5 separate regions of the Homo sapiens genome follow, and regions 1, 2, 3 and 5 are each linked to region 4. The links are contacts of gene promoters, found by promoter capture Hi-C in blood cells and fetal thymus (Javierre and others, 2016). All regions are on one chromosome and are shown on one strand. The core of a region is centred on a gene start or on the middle of the fragment in contact, and the rest is flanking DNA. Distances in the headings are between cores, read along the strand shown.

Evidence for each region. Contacts are between HindIII fragments. The CHiCAGO score rates a contact against its expected background, and 5 or more counts as called.
Region 1: a fragment that was not itself captured here is called in contact with the fragment with the promoter of PSMD7 in region 4 in 10 of 17 cell types (M2 macrophages, total B cells, naive B cells and 7 more); the score reaches 14.2 in M2 macrophages.
Region 2: a fragment that was not itself captured here is called in contact with the fragment with the promoter of PSMD7 in region 4 in 1 of 17 cell types (M2 macrophages); the score reaches 5.7 in M2 macrophages.
Region 3: a contact is called between a fragment that was not itself captured here and the fragment with the promoter of PSMD7 in region 4, in 1 of 17 cell types (M2 macrophages). The highest score is 5.4, in M2 macrophages.
Region 5: a contact is called between a fragment that was not itself captured here and the fragment with the promoter of PSMD7 in region 4, in 1 of 17 cell types (M1 macrophages). The highest score is 6.6, in M1 macrophages.

The regions. Positions count from the first base shown.
Region 1 is chr16:72,120,123-72,123,759 of GRCh38, reverse strand. It overlaps PMFBP1 (polyamine modulated factor 1 binding protein 1), which reads left to right. Exons shown (of 21, transcript NM_031293.3): 18 at 111-214; 19 at 772-846. Among named protein-coding and RNA genes, the nearest start is that of DHX38, 28 kb to the right of the region's middle. The HindIII fragment of the contact is 6,407 bases long and covers 1-3,637 here.
Region 2 is chr16:72,142,394-72,145,870 of GRCh38, reverse strand. The region is part of intron 5 of PMFBP1 (polyamine modulated factor 1 binding protein 1); the gene reads left to right. Among named protein-coding and RNA genes, the nearest start is that of PMFBP1, 28 kb to the left of the region's middle. The HindIII fragment of the contact is 3,324 bases long and covers 1-3,031 here.
Region 3 is chr16:72,220,329-72,224,192 of GRCh38, reverse strand. It overlaps a transcript of PMFBP1 not described here. Among named protein-coding and RNA genes, the nearest start is that of PMFBP1, 50 kb to the right of the region's middle. RefSeq lists enhancers at 1-979, 2,267-3,526. The HindIII fragment of the contact is 3,587 bases long and covers 391-3,864 here.
Region 4 is chr16:74,294,579-74,298,063 of GRCh38, reverse strand. PSMD7 (proteasome 26S subunit, non-ATPase 7) reads right to left here and starts at 1,250. Exons shown (of 7, transcript NM_002811.5): 1 at 1,076-1,250. The coding sequence starts at 1,149. RefSeq lists enhancers at 236-1,125, 1,026-1,335, 1,126-2,017. The HindIII fragment of the contact is 3,645 bases long and covers 1-1,917 here.
Region 5 is chr16:72,243,793-72,247,364 of GRCh38, reverse strand. It overlaps a transcript of PMFBP1 not described here. Among named protein-coding and RNA genes, the nearest start is that of PMFBP1, 73 kb to the right of the region's middle. The HindIII fragment of the contact is 2,420 bases long and covers 620-3,039 here.

The DNA of each region.
Region 1 (3,637 bases), core at 352-2,851, 2.2 Mb after region 4:
CAGAGTCAAGTTTTCTTTTCCCAGGGAGATAGAAGAGGCCTGACTCGGAAGGAGGGCTGACAGGCCTGTGCTCCCACCTCTGACTGTCTCGTTTTCTTCTTGTACCCAAGCCCTGCTGCCTGCCCCAGTGGTCTGTGCCCAAAGACACCTGTAGGCTCTACCGAGGGAATGATCAGATTATGACCAACTTGGAGCAATGGGCAAAACAGCAGAAGTGAGTATGGGAGGAAAAAGGGAGGCAGGGTCCGAGGCCTGGACTGAGCCGAGGAGCCACATGCGTGCCAAAGATTAGTCACACACACCCCTGCACTCCTGGAAAACAGATCCAGTCTCAGCCCACACCCAAGGGATGGAAATAAGATGGAGAGGAGGGCTCAACCCTTCAGGCAGGCCTGGAAAGCCCTCTGCTGAGCTGGAAACAGCGATGGCAGGAAGGAAGGGGTGCTTTGCTCGGCAGCAAGAAGGAAGGGGGACATTGGCTCAGATATCCTCCTCCCATCCCAGGATCCAGCTTCACTGCCTGGCCCCCTTGAACTCATTCCCTTGAACTCACCTGGGGCTCACAGGATTTTGCATAGGAGTTGAGTTCAGAGAGTCCTCTGAATCCCCAGGTGCTAGGAAGGCCTTAGCTCTGCGGACGGGGTGATGCGTGGGGGACGTGGGATGCAGCAGCAGTCTTGCTGAGAACCCAGCATCCCATTCAGCCAGCTGCACCCTTGCTCGCGGGAGGCTGGCGACTGGCTGCTGTTTTCTCCTGTGATTTTATTACAGGGTCGCCAATGAGAAACTAGGAAACCAGCTCCGAGAGCAGGTGAAATACATTGCCAAGCTGAGTGGCGAAAAGGAGTAAGTCATCTTAAACCACCCTGGCTGCTTCCTGGGAGCTGACAAGAAGGGTCAGCAGGGAGCCAGGGCTGGCTTTAGCCCTTGATAGGGGGATCAGCCCAGGAAAGGCCTGGTGCTTTGGAAAGACCCCCAGGTCTCGAATCTGCATCTATGTGACCTTGGGTATATCACTTGACCTCTCAGGGCCTTAGTTCTCTCACCAAAAATCCAAAGGGAGTTTAGTAGTCTTTTTGCTCCTTCCTGCTCTCATGGTTCTCAGAGGTCAAGGGTGCTAAGCAGGGAACAGGCACTGAAAGGCAGACTGGATTATTTAGGGCAGGGGCTGAGATGCTCTAACAGATCCCAAGTGAAGGAACAAACAAGGAACATCTCTTCATGAAATCATCAGGTGAGCAGGCCAGGTTGGAGGAGCCCTTCTGTTCCACCTGCTCATCTGGGGGCCTGTGGTCTTGCTTCCCCTCATGGTCAAAGCTGGGTCCACTAAGAGGGAGGTATGCGAGGAGTGTTACCAGTTTGAGAATGGAGGTGAAGGTATGAAGGCCTAAAACTGAGATTTTGGAGGTGGCAAAGTAACAAGTAACAACAAGCCTTAGGACAGCGCTTCCCAACCTTTTCTTAGGGAACACTTAGAAAACAACCATGCCTTACGTAACACCATGGATACTATGCAGCTATCAAAAAGAATGAGATCATTTCTTTGTGGGAATATGGATGGAGCTAGAGGCTATTATCCTTAGCAAACTGACACAGGAATAGAAAACCAAGTACCACATGTTCTCACTTGTAAGTGGGAGCTAAATGATGAGAACTTAGGAACACAAAGAAGGAAACAACAGACAATGGGGTCTGTCAGAGGGTGGAGGGTGGGAGGAGGGAGAGGAGCAAACAAGATAACTATTGGGTACTGGGCTTAATTCCTGGGTGATGAAATAAAATGTACAACAAAATCCTGTGACATGAGTTTACCGATGTAACATGTACCCCTGAATCTAAACTAAAAGTGAAAATAAAATAAAAGTGAAAAAGAAAATGACCACAGTTTAGGATCACTTGAGCCCAGGAGTTTAAGACTAGCCTGGACGACAGCAAGGCCCTGTCTGTATAAAAAATTTAAAAATGAGCCTAACCAGGCATGGTGGTGCACACGTACAGTCCCAGCTAATTGGGAGGCTGGGGTGGGAGGATTGCTTGAGCCCAAGAGGTTGAGGCTACAGTGACCTATGTTCACACCACTGCACTCTGGCCTGGGTGACAGAATGAGACCCTGTCTCTAAAAAACGATGAAAGTAACCACATTTGTTTGGCATACTTGTGACAAAGCTGACCAAGCAGTGGCTGCCTCAGAGCCTGCCCCCAAGGGCAGGCAGGCATCTCCAAACACCTGGAATCCATTCGTGGCACCCCAGGTGGAAAGCCCTATTCTAGGCTTTGGCCTTAGGTACATGGCTGAGTTGAAGAGAAGGATGAGACCTTTGGAATAAGGAGGCCAATGAATTGAGAAGTCAGGATGTGGATGAGCTGTATGGGATATTGAAGGCTTTGGGGATGCTGACAGGAGGGAGCCAGAGAGCCGGGAAAGGAGGGCACTGCTGAGACCCCCTCTCCAGACCCACCAGCACTGGGAGTGAGGGGCTACTGGGCGGGGGAAGAGGCGACCTCAAGGTTGGCCAGCTTTGTAGAGAGCAAAAGGGTAGAGCATATGCCCACAGAAGAGGTTGAGGATGAATTCTCTACTTGATTTCCTCTAGAAAAGACCACGAAACTTTTTACTAGGGTGTAAGTAAAAGAAAAGTTGTCAGATTCTCAAGGTAACAGATAACTTCAGTCTTTTTCTTCTATTGTGCCAAGTCCAGGAAGTTCTCTTTCACAAAGAACTCACTCTTGAGTTCTCCTGTTCTTATTTGAAAGAAAACCAACTTTTAATGATGATAGTAGCTCAACTAATACATATTATTTGCTGTGTGTGAGGTACTAAGCGTTGACACATATGAGCTCATTTCATCTTCATAAGACCTCCTGTGTTCAGTATAGTCATGATCCCCATTTATGGATGAGGAAAGAGAGGACCTGGGAAACTAAGTAACTTGCCCCTGGTCTCAAAACTAATAAGTGGCAGAGTCACAATTCCAACGTGGGAAGTCTGGTTTCAGAGCCCACCTTCACCCACTGCCCTCAACATTAGTTTGGAGACACACAACAGTGATAATAAAAGTTGCTATTTATTGAGCCACGGGGAATGCGCTAAATTATCTTTCCTCTCCTCTACGTGGCAGCCTCCATTTCCTAATCTGTAAAATGGGGATGAGTAACTCACCCAAGTTCTTGACAGAGCTGGGATCTCCTGTGCTCCCGACTCTTCAGCAAAGGGGAGCGGAGAGAATGCGGGCTTTGGCATTGGTGCTGGGTGAGAGTGTTTCCAAGGCACGGCCATGAGAACCCGAGGACACATGATCACAGTTGTCCCTACCAGCCTTCTGGCTCTTCAAGTCAAATTTCTATCATTTATCAAACCAGATCCTCGTATGAATCCCATCAGTCAGGCCAGGCCTGACTGTCCCCGTCTGACAGATAAGAAAACAGGCCCAGAGCTGGCAGAGTTGGGCAGGAGTACCAGCTCCTGGTCCACTCAGACCCCAGGCCTGGGCTTCTTTCACAGGACACACGTAGGCTTCCATTTCTACAGAGCATGTGTAACAGGCCGGCTCTGAACAGACCTGGGCATCTGTGCTGTCTTCCCTGTGACACCTTTATCTGTCCTTTCTAGCAGGGAACCAACCAGAGCCAGCAGCCC
Region 2 (3,477 bases), core at 120-2,619, 2.2 Mb after region 4:
TCATAACCTGTTATTGGTCTATTCAGAGATTCAACTTCTTCCTGGTTTAGTTTTGGGAGGGTGTATGTGTCGAGGAATTTATCCATTTCTTCTAGATTTTCTAGTTTATTTGCATAGAGATGTTTATAGTATTCTCTGATGGTAGTTTGTATTTCTGTGGAATCAGTGGTGATGTCCCCCTTATCATTTTTTATTGCATCTATTTGATTCTTCTCTCTTTTCTTCTTTATTAGTCTGGCTAGCAGTCTATCTATTTTGTTGATCTTTTCAAAAATCCAGCTCCTGGATTCATTGATTTTTTGAAGGTTTTTTTGTGTCTCTATCTCCTTCAGTTCACTCTGATCTTAGTTATTTCTTGTCTTCTGCTAGCTTTTGAATTTGTTTGCTCTTACTTCTCTAGTTCTTTTAATTGTGATGTTAGGGTGTCAACTTCAGATCTTTCTTGCTTTCTCTTGTGGGATTTAGTGCTATAAATTTCCCTCTACACACTGCTTTAAATGTGTCCCAGAGATTCCAGTATGCTGTGTCTTTGTTCTCCTTGGTTTCAAAGAACATCTTTATTTCTGCCTTCATTTCGTTACTTACCCAGTAGTCATTCAGGAGCAGGTTGTTCAGTTTCCATGCAGTTGTGCGGTTTTGAGTGAGTTTCTTAATCCTGAGTTCTAATTTGATTTCACTGTGGTCTGAGAGACAGTTTGTTGTGATTTCTATTCTTCTACATTTGCTGAGGAGTGTTTTACTTCCAATTATGTGATCAATTTTAGAATAAGTGTGATGTGGTGCTGAGAAGAATGTATATTCTGTTGATTTGGGGTGGAGAGTTCTGTAGATGTCTATTAGGTCCGCTTGGTGCAGAGCTGAGTTCAAGTCCTGGATGTCCTTGTTAATTTTCTGTCTCATTGGTCTGTCTAATATTGACAGTGGAGTGTTAAAGTCTCCCACTATTATTGTATGGGAGTCTAAGTCTCCTTGTAGGTCTCTAAGAACTTGCTTTATGAATCTGGGTGCTCCTCTATTGGGTGCATATATATTTAGGATAGTTAGCTCTTCTTGTTGCATTGATCCCTTTACCATTATGTAATGCCAGAAGATTTTAATTTTTATGGAGTTGAATCTGTCAGTCCTTTATAAATTCTAGGTTTTATGTCTTGCTTAGAAAGGCCTTCACTACCTTCAGGATTATAAAAGTTTATTGTATATTTTCTTTAGCACTTTTATAATTTTGCATTTTTATGTTTTTATCTTTAGTCCATCTGGAATATATATTTTATATGTATAATGACATAAGGCTCGAATTTTATTATTTAAATAAATATCCAGTGGCCTCAAAACCATTTATTGAACATCCCAAGCCTTCCACACTGGTTCAGGTACCAGCTCACAGACCGATTCTTCTGTACACGGGACCTTCTCTGGACTCGGTATTTTTTTTATCTTTCTGCCAGTTCGTGTGCCAGTGTCAGAGTTTTTTAGTGACTTTAACTGGTAGCTTGTTTTAATAGATCCTGTTAGGACAGGTCCTCCTTCACTCTTCTACACTTTCTATTTTTTCTTGGCCATTTTTTTATTTCTTTTCTTAATGAAATTTAGATTTATGTTGACTGACTTTCAAATTATGTACTAATTTGGGGGAAATTAGCATGCCCTGTGGAATATGACATATTTTTACTTTTATGCAAGTTTTCTTGTGTGTCCTTCAGTAAGATTTTGTACTTTTCTCTGTAGATCTCACGTATTTCTTGCTATGTTTATTCCTGGACATATTTCAGTTGTTATTGGTTTTATAAATGGGATCTTTTATACATTTAATTTTATTAATTTTTTTTTTTGAGATGGAGTTTCGCTCTTGTTGCCCAGGCTGGAGTGCAATGGTGCAATCTCGGCTCACTGCAACATCCGCCTCCCAGGTTCAAGCGATTCTCCTGCCTCAGCCTCCCGAGTAGCTGGGATTACAGGCATGTGCCACCAGGCCTGGCTAATTTTGTACTTTTAGTAGAGAGGAGTGTTTCTCCATGTTGGTCAGGCTGGCCTCGAACTCCTGACCTCAGGTGATCTGCCTACCTTGGCCTCCCAAAGTGCTGGGATTACAGGCATGAGCCACCACACCCGGCCAATTTTTTTTGTCTCTGAGATGGAGTCTCACTCTGTCACCCAGTCTAGAGTGCAGTGAGGCAATCTCTGCTCACTGCAACCTCCGCCTCTTGGGTTCAAGCAATTCTTCTGCCTCAGCCTTCCAAGTAGCTGGGACTACAGGCACGTGCCACCACAGACAGCTAATTTTTGTTATTTTTGCAGAGACAGGGTTTCACCATGTTGGCCAGGCTGGTCTTGAACTCCTGACCTCAAGTGATCTTCCCACCTCAGCCTCCCAAAGTGCTGGGATTACAGGTGCAAGCCACCACGCCCGGCCTAATTGTATTATTACTGTTGTATAGGAAAACTTCTCTCTTATCCTGCCACCTTACTGAGCTCTCTTACCAGATTTTCACTTGACTGTCTTGGATTTTCCTAAATTGCTTTCCCTTTCAAAATTTACACAACTTATTTTCCATCTTATCGTATTGACCAGCATCTCTAGAGCAAAGTGGAATTGTAGCCTCTTTGCCTTGCTCCTCATTTTAAAGGAAGTAATTCTAGTATTTCACTATTAAGTATAATGCCTGTTCTTGGCTTATTTTCAATATCCTTTCTCAAATTGTAAGTATGACTGTCTATATTTAGCTTATCAAGAATTGTTATTAGGAATGAATGTTGAATTTTATCAGATGTTTTTATTAGCATCTATCCATCAATGAAGCAGATTACACGAATAGATTTTCATATATAGAACAATGTTTATGTTCCTGGAATAAACCCTATTTGATCATAATATATTATTAATAATTTTAATGAACTTTACTAAATTTGTTAAAAGTTAATTTTTTTTCATCTATTTTCAGAAATGAGATTAATTTGATGGCCTAAATTTTTGTGCTTTCCTTGCATATTGGTGTCTGGATTATGCCATCCTAATATAATGAGCTGGAAAGCTTTTCACCTTCTTTTAAATCTCTGCCACTGTGTATATATAGGAAGTATCTATTTCTTTAATATTACAAATAAACCCAGCTGTTTCTCATTACTATGCTCGGCAGTCCCTTCACCTCTTCTGCATTCTTGGAGTTTTCCTTTTGCTGTAAATAATTCCTTCTTAATTCTTTCAGAAACAATTGTGGGTGGCACAATTTCTCAATATTTCCATGTCTGAGCAAGGTTTATTTTGTCATCATCCTTGAATGCTAGTTTGGCTGGATATACAAACTTTCAAAAGCATCTTCCCTTAAGTCTTCAAAGATACTGCTGCATTTCTTTGTACCACCTTGTACCACAGTATTAGAGATGCATTGTTAGATGTCAGTGTGTTTCTCATTTTTCATAGTTTACCTATTTTATCTCTTTGAACACTGGAGGTTTTTAGGCTTGGGGTGTTAAGCCATT
Region 3 (3,864 bases), core at 935-3,434, 2.1 Mb after region 4:
CACCGATTTGGACATGAGGCCAAGGAGAGGACAGAGTTGCTGATGAAACTTCTCAAGTGTTGCCATCAGCAGCCCAGCCCTGGACAAATTTTTGAAATAGGTTGGCTTTATTTTTATCACTTCAGAGAACTCAGTGCAGTACCTCTCTTCTGCAGACCAGGGTCGTGTCTGTTTACTTCATTTCCAGTGTCAAATCTGTCATCTGGAAAGGGTGTGAAATTCATCCTGAAGGTAAGAATTTGCAATGCTATCCTTCCCAGGTGTTTGCCCTTCAATAGATCTCTGGCCTTTAAGGTATAGATAGGAACCTTTAAGAAGGAAATTTCTATTCTTAGCTAGTAATTTTCCAATGTGTTTCTCTTCATGTATTATATTCCTTTCAGTAAAGCTTGTAGTTTCAGAAGGTAAGTCCTGTAGCCCCATCCTCTGATAGGTTCCTGGTGCCTTTGACCATGCAGCAGCCCTCCTTTGTCATGTCTACTAGTTTTTGTCCTTTTCCTGTTCAGGGTACTCTACTCAGCAGCTCTAGCTTGTTGGCCCTTACTTATGATTTGGGCAGGTGACCTGCTACCTAGGAAGTCTTTTATTCTCATGCTTCATATATTTCAAACTTTGCCTTGGTCCAGCATGGTATTCAAAACACTGAATAATTTTACAGCCCAGCCACTGACTGGTCATAAGGAACACTGAGAACACCAACTGTAAACAACTGTTAGGGCCATATCAGAACAGCCAGCTGAGTACCCACTTGGATATTGGCATCTTCTGGGTTACAAGAGCCTTGCAATTAAGGATGAGCCAACAGACCTGTAATCGGGAACTACACCCAGTCTTTTAAAAACAAGATTAAAACAAAATGAAAAATAAAATGCAATCCACTCACTGTCACTGAATTTCCAAAGATTAGTAATGCCAGTTCACTAATACTGATCCACAACTGTCTCCTAGGCAAGGCAGGAAAGAGCCATGGAAATTCGGTGCTGTGACATACTCCTCAACTTTAACCTTTCTTCCTTGTGCAGGATGGGATTTTTTTCCCCAGTGCCTTTGAGATGTCCTGGAGAACAGGAAGCAAAACTTCCCCCCAGTTCTTGCCCTGCTGCATCCCACTCCCATGCACAGCCTGGGGTAGCATATTCATGACCCAGTGAGGCTGTGTGTCATGACAAGCTGGCTAGCCTTTTATTAATACCCAAGATTATTCACTCCCCTTTTTATTTGAAAGAGCCAAATAATTTTAAATACCACCTATAAGACTGCAGCTGTCCCCAGAAATGGAATTCTGATTGAATTCCTACTGCTCCTTTAAGAGTCAACTTAAATGTCACCTTTAAATAATAACTGCTGACATTTACCCAGAGCTTACTCTAAGCCAGGCACTTTGCTAAGGGCTTCTCATGGATTTCTCATTTCATCTTCAAAAAAGAAAAAAACAAAAACAAAAAACTCCAAGGTAAGTACTAATACTATCCCCATTTTACAGATGTGGAAACTGAGAGATTAAATAACTTACCCAACATCTCATAGCTGGTAAGTGGGAGAGTCGGCAGTCTAACATCTGGGTCCTCAGCACCGTTACATAGCAGGTATTCAACAAATGACCTGAGGGATGGGCACAGTCTTTGTTTCCCTTTGTGCTGTGGTCTCTGCAGTGACCCTCACATTTGCAGTGACTTAACCAGCACCTGTCTTCCCAAACTCAACAAGCCCACTGCTCTATCCCCCCAGACCTGATACCATGCTTGGCATATTGCAAGCATGCAATAAAATATTTGTGGAAATAAGAGATAGAAGGAGGAAGGAGGGAAGAACAAAAAGCCTTTCTAGTTTGAGGCTTGGAAAATACAGTGACCTGAAATGAACTTTGGAATGAAAAGAAGCTGAGGGCTGCACTGATCTTAGGTTTAACATGCCAGGGTTATGCCAGGCATGGTGGTGAGTGCCTTTAACCCAGCTACTTGAGAAGGTGAGGCAGGAAGGTCCCTTGAGACCAGGAATTCAAGACCAGTCTGAGCAACATAGCAAGATCCAGACTCAAAAAAACCCAACCAACCAAACCAAAAAACCCCACCAGGATTGCAACCCCAACTCTGCCACTTACTGGCCACACGACTCCCATGCATATTGCTTTACTTTGAGCTTCAGTTTCAACATCTTGTAAAATGGTTTTCTTTTTTGGAGTTACGAAAATTAAATGAAGTGACACATATACCTGAGCCCGGCAAAGTGCCTGCTACTCAATAACTGTTGTTAAGTGAGAGATACAGGGAAGAGGCTGGCATATTTCACCTCATATAGAGGAACATGTGGTCATCACTGATACATAAAATATTGCAAGAGACCAGTAACTCTTTCGAGTGATTCAACCAAATGACTCTATGTCTAAACATTAAAGTATGACATATGAAGTATCATCAGGAACATCAATTTTATGTCTCAATGCCAGCTTTACTAAGATGTGTAACTGTTTATATTTATAATGCAAATGTATTGCACGATTCCTGGTCAGAAGAGTTTAAACATCTGTTCTTTTCTCTCCCCCTTCATCCTTCCCGAGAGTAGGTACTCCTTCCCCATACTCTCCCTCCAGCACCCTTCATCTGCCTGTCACTTTTCAAAGACAAGCTCCTCAGAATGAAATCTCTGCTGTCTTTGTTTTCCTGGTTTCCATTTTGTATCCTAAAATATTCACTCCAAGTTCCGCTTGACAGACATTCCTAATCTAATCTCCACGTCTGCTTTCTAATTTTCACAGTCAGGATAAAACAAATAGGTTGGAGTTAATTGCCGGAGCAGCGGGCCAGAGCACTGAGCTGTGATTTATGAGCTGAGTGCAGGCGCTCTGCAACACATTTTTCTTAATTTATTTTTAATGAGTCTCTCAATTAATTTTCTTGGAAACATCTTAATGATGTTGGAGGCGGGTGTTAATGAGGTCTGCACCAGCTCCTAATTTTGCATATTTTAAAGTGCCTAATGTCATCATGCACCCTTTCTTTCCATTTTAAGAAGAGATGTCAGGGGTGGCAGGGGGCGAGGATTATTGTTGAATGGAGAATTTTCACTCTTCATGCCTCAGTCTTTGCTTAACCTTTCAGACTTTATGGGCTTTTGGTGTTCTCAGCGCAATCACATACCCCTGCTCTCCTTCCCCACCCTTGCTCTCTCTAGGTTCGCTTAGGCTGAGAAGCTGCAGCAGGAAAGGAAGGGAAAGGGCACAATCCTCAGGAAACTGAGAGTTCTGGGGAGCAGTCAGTGGACCTAGTGAAGATGTCCAGGGGGTACTTTTGCTAGGTTGATCGACCTTTCCCAAAGCAGACAGTGATTAGGGAAAAATGCAACTGGAAGAAACAACTCGAGGGATGTGTTCTTACCATCTGGCCATTTGTTCAGAGCCCTGGGTCCCCTCAATGTGTCTGCAGAGCCTAGGGCACCAGATCCACAGGACTGCAGCACTGTCCACCTTGCATCCTGCAAGGCCTGGAGAAAAATGCAAGGCCGAGTACTGTCTCTGAGCCCTCTCTCATACCTCCTGTCTCCACTAAGTCTTCATCATTCTTCATTCTGTGTTTTCTCGTTGGAGCTCATTTTTCTGATTAAATAGTCATTAAATGTTTATATAGAAAATCTAGGAAATGCAAAAGAATTTATCAAATAGGGGAAAACCAAGCTCTACCACTTAAAGACAACCTCTATTCAAATTATGGTATGTTTCCTTCTAGACATTTTTTTCCTATTCATGGGCTTTTGGTTTTTATTTTATGCATTTGCGATATACTGAATATCCTTTTTTCCATTTAACATTATAACATTAGATAACATACTTCCTTCAAGCATCGTTTTTAATGGCTGTTTAATATTCCA
Region 4 (3,485 bases), core at 1-2,500:
GTCTCAGCCTCCCAAAATGCTGGGATTACAGGCGTGAGCCACCATGCTCGGCCTCGTGTTTTAAATAAAAACTGAAACCTCATCTATATATACATTTTTTTTTTTGAGACGGAGTCTAATCAGATTCCCATTTAAAAATGTTAATGGGTTAAAACCACAGCTGATCCAGGAAGCCCTTCGGGGTGCTGAGCATCATCCAGATTTCGATAACAGGAACTCGGTCAAATGAAGACAAACATAGATACGACCCTGGGGGCGGGGGTCAGGGCCAAATTGAAGCTAGCCCCCTTAGCCCCACTCCGGCATCATCCAGGCATCATTCACTTTGCATCATTCACATTTCGGTGAAATCAACTTGGTTAAACGAGGATAAACATAAATACGACCCTGGGGCCGGGGTCAGGGCCAAATGAAGGTAGCCACCCTGCACCCCACTCCAGCATCATCCATATTTCGGTGAAACCAATTCGGTCAAACGAAGATAAACATAGCCTTGGGGCGGGGCTAAATGGAGCTAGCCCACTCCGCCCCACCCAAGCATCATCCAGACATCAGTCACTTTGCATTATTCACATTTCAGTGAAATCAACTGAGTCAAATGAAGATACGACCCTGGGGTCGGGGGTCAGAGCCAAATGAAGCTAGCCCGCCTCCGCCCCACCCTGGCTTTATCCAGATTTCGGCAAAACGAACTTCAAAACGAAGTGACAGACACGAGCTTGGGGGCGGGGGTCAGGGCCAACTAAAGCTAGCCGCATCTCCCGACCCCCAGCATCATCCAGATTTCGGTAAAACGAACTTCGGCAAAACGAACTCGGAAAGGGAACTCTGTAAAACAAACAGGCTAAACGGAACAGGCAGCCAAGGCCCCGAAGTGGCGGCGGCTGGGGCAGGGGCGGGAGGCTGGATGACTCCGGCATCGTGAGCCGACGCTGGTCTGGACTCGTGAACAAGTAAGGGTCACCAGCCGCCCTATCTGCGTCCCCAGCTCGTCCGCGGCCGCCGCGCCATCTCCAGCGTGCCCGTGACTCAGCAGCGGCTGCGCCGCCGGCCCAGCTATAGGGCGCTCGCTCACCGGTTGAAATGATCCACCACACTGAGCAGCACCAGGGGGTGGACCACCACCTTCTGCACTGCCAGCTCCGGCATCGCGACACACCCCGCTCGCCAGGCCTGGCTCCCTGCCACACGCAAACACCGGCAGCAGTAGCGGTCACCGGTACCCTTTCAGGCCCAGTTCCTCTTCTTCCGGTTCGTCAGCCCTCGCGCGGCCTCCTTCTTCCGCTCCCAGAGTGCCTCGCGCGGCGGGCCCGGATCTTCGCCACCGCCGTCATTTGTGGGCGGAGAAAGGGCTGGAGAAAGGCGGGAATCGCCCCTCGTCCCTCGCCGTGCGTTTCCCTGGACTTAAGGGCCGAAGGGACACCGGCGACTTGACCTCCTGGTATTGGCCTGTACCGTCACCTGCAGAGGCTTTTCGCCTCAATTCCTTCCCAGCACCCTCCCCCCGCCACCCCCCCAAAGTAAATAGTTGACAGTTTACTTTTCTACCACCCGGAAGAAGTTCACTTTTGCTTCAGGTCAAAATCCTCCGCGATTTCTGAGAGGAACTTTAAATCTCTAACATAAGAGCACGCTTTTAATGTAATTTGGTAATTTATCTCATTCTCGTTTTCATTGCCGGGGGAATTTCTCCTTTATCTTTACTGTGGACACTTTGCAATGAACGTGGCAACCTGCAGGTTTCCACCTGTCGTTATATTACTGCGTAACTAGGGCTAGAAGAACGCAATTGTGCCGTTGCTTTTGAAATCAAAATTTACAGAAGCGTTGAAGAAAAGACGGAAGGAAGGCAGTAAGGAAGTATGTTGTGATATGTAGCTAGGAAAGAGAAGACTAAGGTAGACAAAGACTTAAGCTTATTTGCAGGAGGCAAATTATAAGAAAAATCATACAGGTTTATATCGTCTCATTTGAAGTTGCTGTTTCTGTAAACGAAAACAGTACTTAAGCAACCTGAATTATTTACTTATATTTTGTTCTGTTTTTAAACAATTTTTGCTTTCCCTTTATCACCAGAGGATTTTCCCAACATTTTGGCCTCTTGTCTTTTTAAGGTGGACTTCCTGATCTCCAAATGTCAAGGGACACACTCAGTCTCTCTTATTTGTGGGTGGTGAAAAACATTAGCAAAGATTAGACTGAAATTTGGCCACCAATGAGAGACATTAATGTAGTCAGGAGTTTGAATTTGTCTGCATGTGAATTTATCTTTGTCTTCTGTCTGCAACTTGGCTTTATTTTCAGATTTTCTGCTAGATCTGCAAGGAAGTAAATGGCAGGATATGCTTAATATTCATAATTAATTGAAGAGACTCAATGCTATCTTTATTTTTTCATTTTTTTTTTTGGTACAGTTGGTGTCTCACTATGTTGTCCAAGCTGGTCTTAAACCCCCAGCCTCAAGCAATCCTCCCACCTCAGCCTCCCAAACTGCTGGGATTACAGGTGTGAGCTACTGTGCCTGGCCATTCATTCTTAATTATAACTAGAAAGATATAAGGGTTATGTTAATGGGGAAAGAAAACTAAGAATTATTGAATCTATTGAGTGCCTATAATATGCCAGCCCTGGTTCAGACGCAAATATTTAATCCTTTTAATTAATGCTTCTCAAACTTTGATATGCTTACAAATCACCAGGGGACCTTGTTAAAATTCAGATTCTGATTCTGTAGGTCTGAGATGGGACCTGAAATTCTGAGCTTCTAACAAGCTTTCAGGTGAGGCCCATGCTGTGTTAACAAGGCTTGTAACAACCTTACGAAGTCGGTATTTTCTCATTACAAATGAAAATTGTTGCTCAAATGTTGCTCTCGAGGTGGGCTTTTTCTCACGCTTTGAAAAAATTTTGTCTTTCTCCCCCTAATGTGTTTCTGCTTTAGTTTTCTCCATAGTTTTTACCACTTGTGAATAGTTTGTAGAATTTACTTATTCTGTTCATTCTTTGTCTCTCATTAGAATGTAAGCTCTTGTTTAGTTTGTAAACTCCTGTTTACTTTTTTTTTTTTTTTTAAATAAATGAGAGACAGTCTCGCTCTGTCACCCAGTCCGGAATGCAGTGGCACAATCTTGGCTCACTGCAACCTTCACCTCCCAGGTTCAAGCGATTCTCATACCTCAGCCTCCCAAGTAGCTGGGACTACAGGTGAGCGCCACCATGCCCCACTAATTTTTCTATTTTTAGTAGAGATGGAGTTTCACTGTGTTGGCCAGGCTTATCTGGAACTCCTGAACTCAAGTGATCTGCCTGCCTTGGCTTCCCAAAGTGCTGGGATTATAGGTGTGAGCCACTGCACCTGGCCCCTAGTTTACTTTTATATTATCATTGTCTTGAAAAGTGCCTGGCACATAGGAGACATTCAGTAATTACTATATAAATGAATAATTAGTTATGATAGTGAAATGGAAGATGACAATAAGGCTCAG
Region 5 (3,572 bases), core at 580-3,079, 2.1 Mb after region 4:
ACTCAGCTTTTTGTAAAAATTGTACTCTAAGGAAAAATCCCTGAGGATGCTGCTTTTCTCTCCTGGTTTTTCTAAAACCTCCAGATGAAAATGACCAAAGAAAATGCTCTGTGATTGCATTTAAGCACACTTAACTACATGCCACCTTATAAAATATCTTAGTATCATGCATTAGACAGAGATCCTTAAGTCTCTGTGTTCTTTACCTTGTGTGATTATTCAGTTAACTAAATTACTGCTAGCAAATGGCATTAATGAAGGGCATTCCTTCTATCCTGGGGAAATTGTGTACCTCTTCATCGGACAGGTAAATGGGGAGTAAGAAGTCAGCTTCCTGCTTTCATCGTCGCCTGCCCCATTTTGTGTCAGAGCATTTTGCTTGTGAAAACAGTAAGCTCATTCCTGAACAGTAGGAGGGTATCAAACAGTGGGCATCTTTCTCTTGTTAGTAAAACTTTTTATTTCTATACTGCTTTATAGTTTCAGGAGGATATTCCTTCCCTCTCTCCCTCTCTTTCTTCCTTCCTTGTATATTTAGAGTAAATAAGATGGTCCATGCCCTTTGCTAGGCACTGAAGATAAAAAGAGAAATAAATATAGTCTCTGCCCTCAATAAGCTTCCTCGTTAAGAAGGGGAGAGAGAATAATAACCAGTCAATCATTATCCTATACAGCGAGCGTTCTAACCATGTGTACTACAGGAAATACTGAGAAGACAGGAAGCCTCACAGAGAAAGTAACCTTGTGGCCAGATCTTGAAAGATGAACAGGTGTTTACAGCTGGAGAAAGAGGAGTGATGAGAGGGGACTGGGGAAGTTGTCACCTCAAGCAGAAGGGACAGCAGGTGTGAGGACATTAAGGCACGAAATACGTGACTGAAATGGCAGGTGAGGCCAGATCACAAAGGACCTATGTGCCTTGTCCAGGTGTCTGGAATTTGTCATATGGCGCTTTCATTTCAGCTGTTCCTCACAGTAGCCTGAGGAGTCTGATGTTATCCAACAGCAAACCAGTGTCCTGAGAAATAGAGGACCTAGGCTGTAGTAGGATTCTGCCACCTACTACCACTTGTCAACTTGAGGCAAGTCACCAGGCCTCTTTGAGCTTAGAACACACATCACCTATTTATCACTTCTCTATGCAACAGTAATTTAATATTAATGCTATTGTCCTTTCAGCAACTGTCTGTTACCATATACTGTTAATGTACTTTTCTTAGGCACTGGGTGCTATTAGCCGATGAGAGTGAATCTGGCAAACTGTAATCTCCTCCCTCCCCAGTGCGCATAATGCACCATTCTGCAACCACTCTTACCCAATGAGTATGCTCCCACACTATCCAGAGTAGACTGTCTTTTGCAGTGGTGGTGTTTATTCTGCCATGATCTCTCTTTCTGCCATTTATTTTTGTCCCGAGAAGCAGTTTTGATCCATAATGGCTAACAAAAGATGGTCAAGCACTGGTGCTGGAGCAAAGAAATAGAGAGTGTCATGCTGGGTGTTCAAATACAAGTGTAATATCAGCTCAAGTGAAGTTCAAGGAAATGGTTGGAGAGAGAGAGTGAAGGAGAGAGAGAGGGAGAAGCCATCAGCAGAGAGTTAAAGAGCAGTGGCAGTGTGACTTGGGAAGGGCACCGTACAGACCGGGGCATCCTGGGAGCACTGCACTACACCTGTGACAGCAGGCTGGGAGAAAATTTGGCTGGAGAGAAGCCATGAACTCGGGGAACCTGGAGGGAACAGATTAGCCATCGTCAGCCATTGCCATGATTCTGAAAACATGTCTCTGTAGGGTCTGTGTTTTCAGGACCATATGCAGCACGAATTCAGGCAGTGCACCCTTTTCTGAAAAGAGTGCAACCCCTGTGCAAACCATGGGGAATTCATGGTTTACTAAACTACAGCGTTTAAGAGCATGGGCTCTGTAGCCAGGCCATCTGGGTTTGAAGCCCAGCTTTACCATTTACCAGCTGTACCACCTTGGATATTGAACCTCACGGCATCTCAGTTCCCCCACCTGTAAAATGGAAGTAGCAGTACTATCTACCAACCAGGGTAGTTGAGATAATAGAATACTTGTAAAGTGCTTAGAATAGTGCCTAGCACATGTTAAATGCTCAAAAATATTAGTTATAATTGTTTTTATTATTATAACTGCTGTTATTGTTATTTAGTTTTCTGTCTATAAAATGAGGAGAATTGATTAAATAATCCCTGAGATCCCCCCCAGTGCTAACATTACCTGAACTCATTAATCCCTTTAGCCCTAGGAGAAAACTGCAACTCTGAGGAATTGACTGCCCCCACCAGGATTACACGGGGAGTAAGGAGTAAATGCAAAACTGGAACTGGAACCCAAGTCAGTTGCCCGACTCTCATGCCCCCCATGCTCTCTTGCGTGCCCAAAACTGACCAGAGCATCACGCAGCGGGGCCCCTTGCTCCCTAACCTCTTGCACCCTTGGAGTGGCAGAGTTTCAGGCCAGCTCTGGTTTTTGTTTTGTTTTTTAACCCCTTCCATTCTTCTGTGAATCAAGAAGGGAAGTGGCTAGCCTGGGGAGTGAAAGGGATTTGTTGCACTGGAAGAAATAAAATTTAGCCTAACTTTAATAAACTAAAGAATATTTCTCCCAGCATTTACAGCTCAAGCATCTTCTGTTGGTCCCCATACCAGTAGGAGATTTGGTCATCCTTTTGGAGAAAGTGAAAGGATTTTCCACCCAGTTTTGGAGGAAAAGAAATCTTTAGATGTGGCCCTTTGTCTTAACCACCCATTGCTCTTGTTTTATGTGGCTGGAATCTCAGTCATACTTGTTTCCTTTCTGGTGCAATTATGGCAATTCTTCAAGGACCCAGTAGAACCTGAGAAAGCAGGGAGAGGGGAGAAGAAGGAGAGGGGACGTATTTTCAACAAACTGACCTATCCTTTATCCTTTAGTGTCAATTTTGGCAATATTTGCATCTATATTCTTTTCTACACATTTACAACCCACTTACACATAACAGGGACTCTGGTCTCTAGCTACTGGGAATGAAGCTTTCCTCTTTTGTTTATTATCTCTCTTTTTTTTCTTGTCTGTGTCCATTTCAATATTAGAATAATCATTACCCTCAATAGCTAAAATATCTGTGCAGGGTTTGTTTTTTTAATAAGTATTTTTCATTTGACTGAACCGATTTCATCAAAGGAGGTTAATGTGATCACTTTAATTTGCAAAATGCCTTCCTCTTTTTATTTCTTCTGCATTTGATTTTGAGCACACGTTTAATTGTTTTTGAGGGTTTGTGTTTCAGCCTCAGCTGGACATGCAGAATAGGCTCTAGACAGTCTCAGAATTTCATTATGACCAAGGAACCACTATTCTATAAACACTGAAAATTGGAAATTATCTCTAGAGCTGTTTGTTAACGAAGTCGAAGGCTAACCTTTAGGGCTCATTAAAATTCCACTGATGAAAACTCTCGTGCAGGTCAGTCCCTCTTTCAGGAATCTATCCCTGTGTTACGAGTGCTGGTGTGCGGAAATCAGTCTGGACCCTCCCCTTTGCCCTCCCCTTTAATCTCTTGGTCTG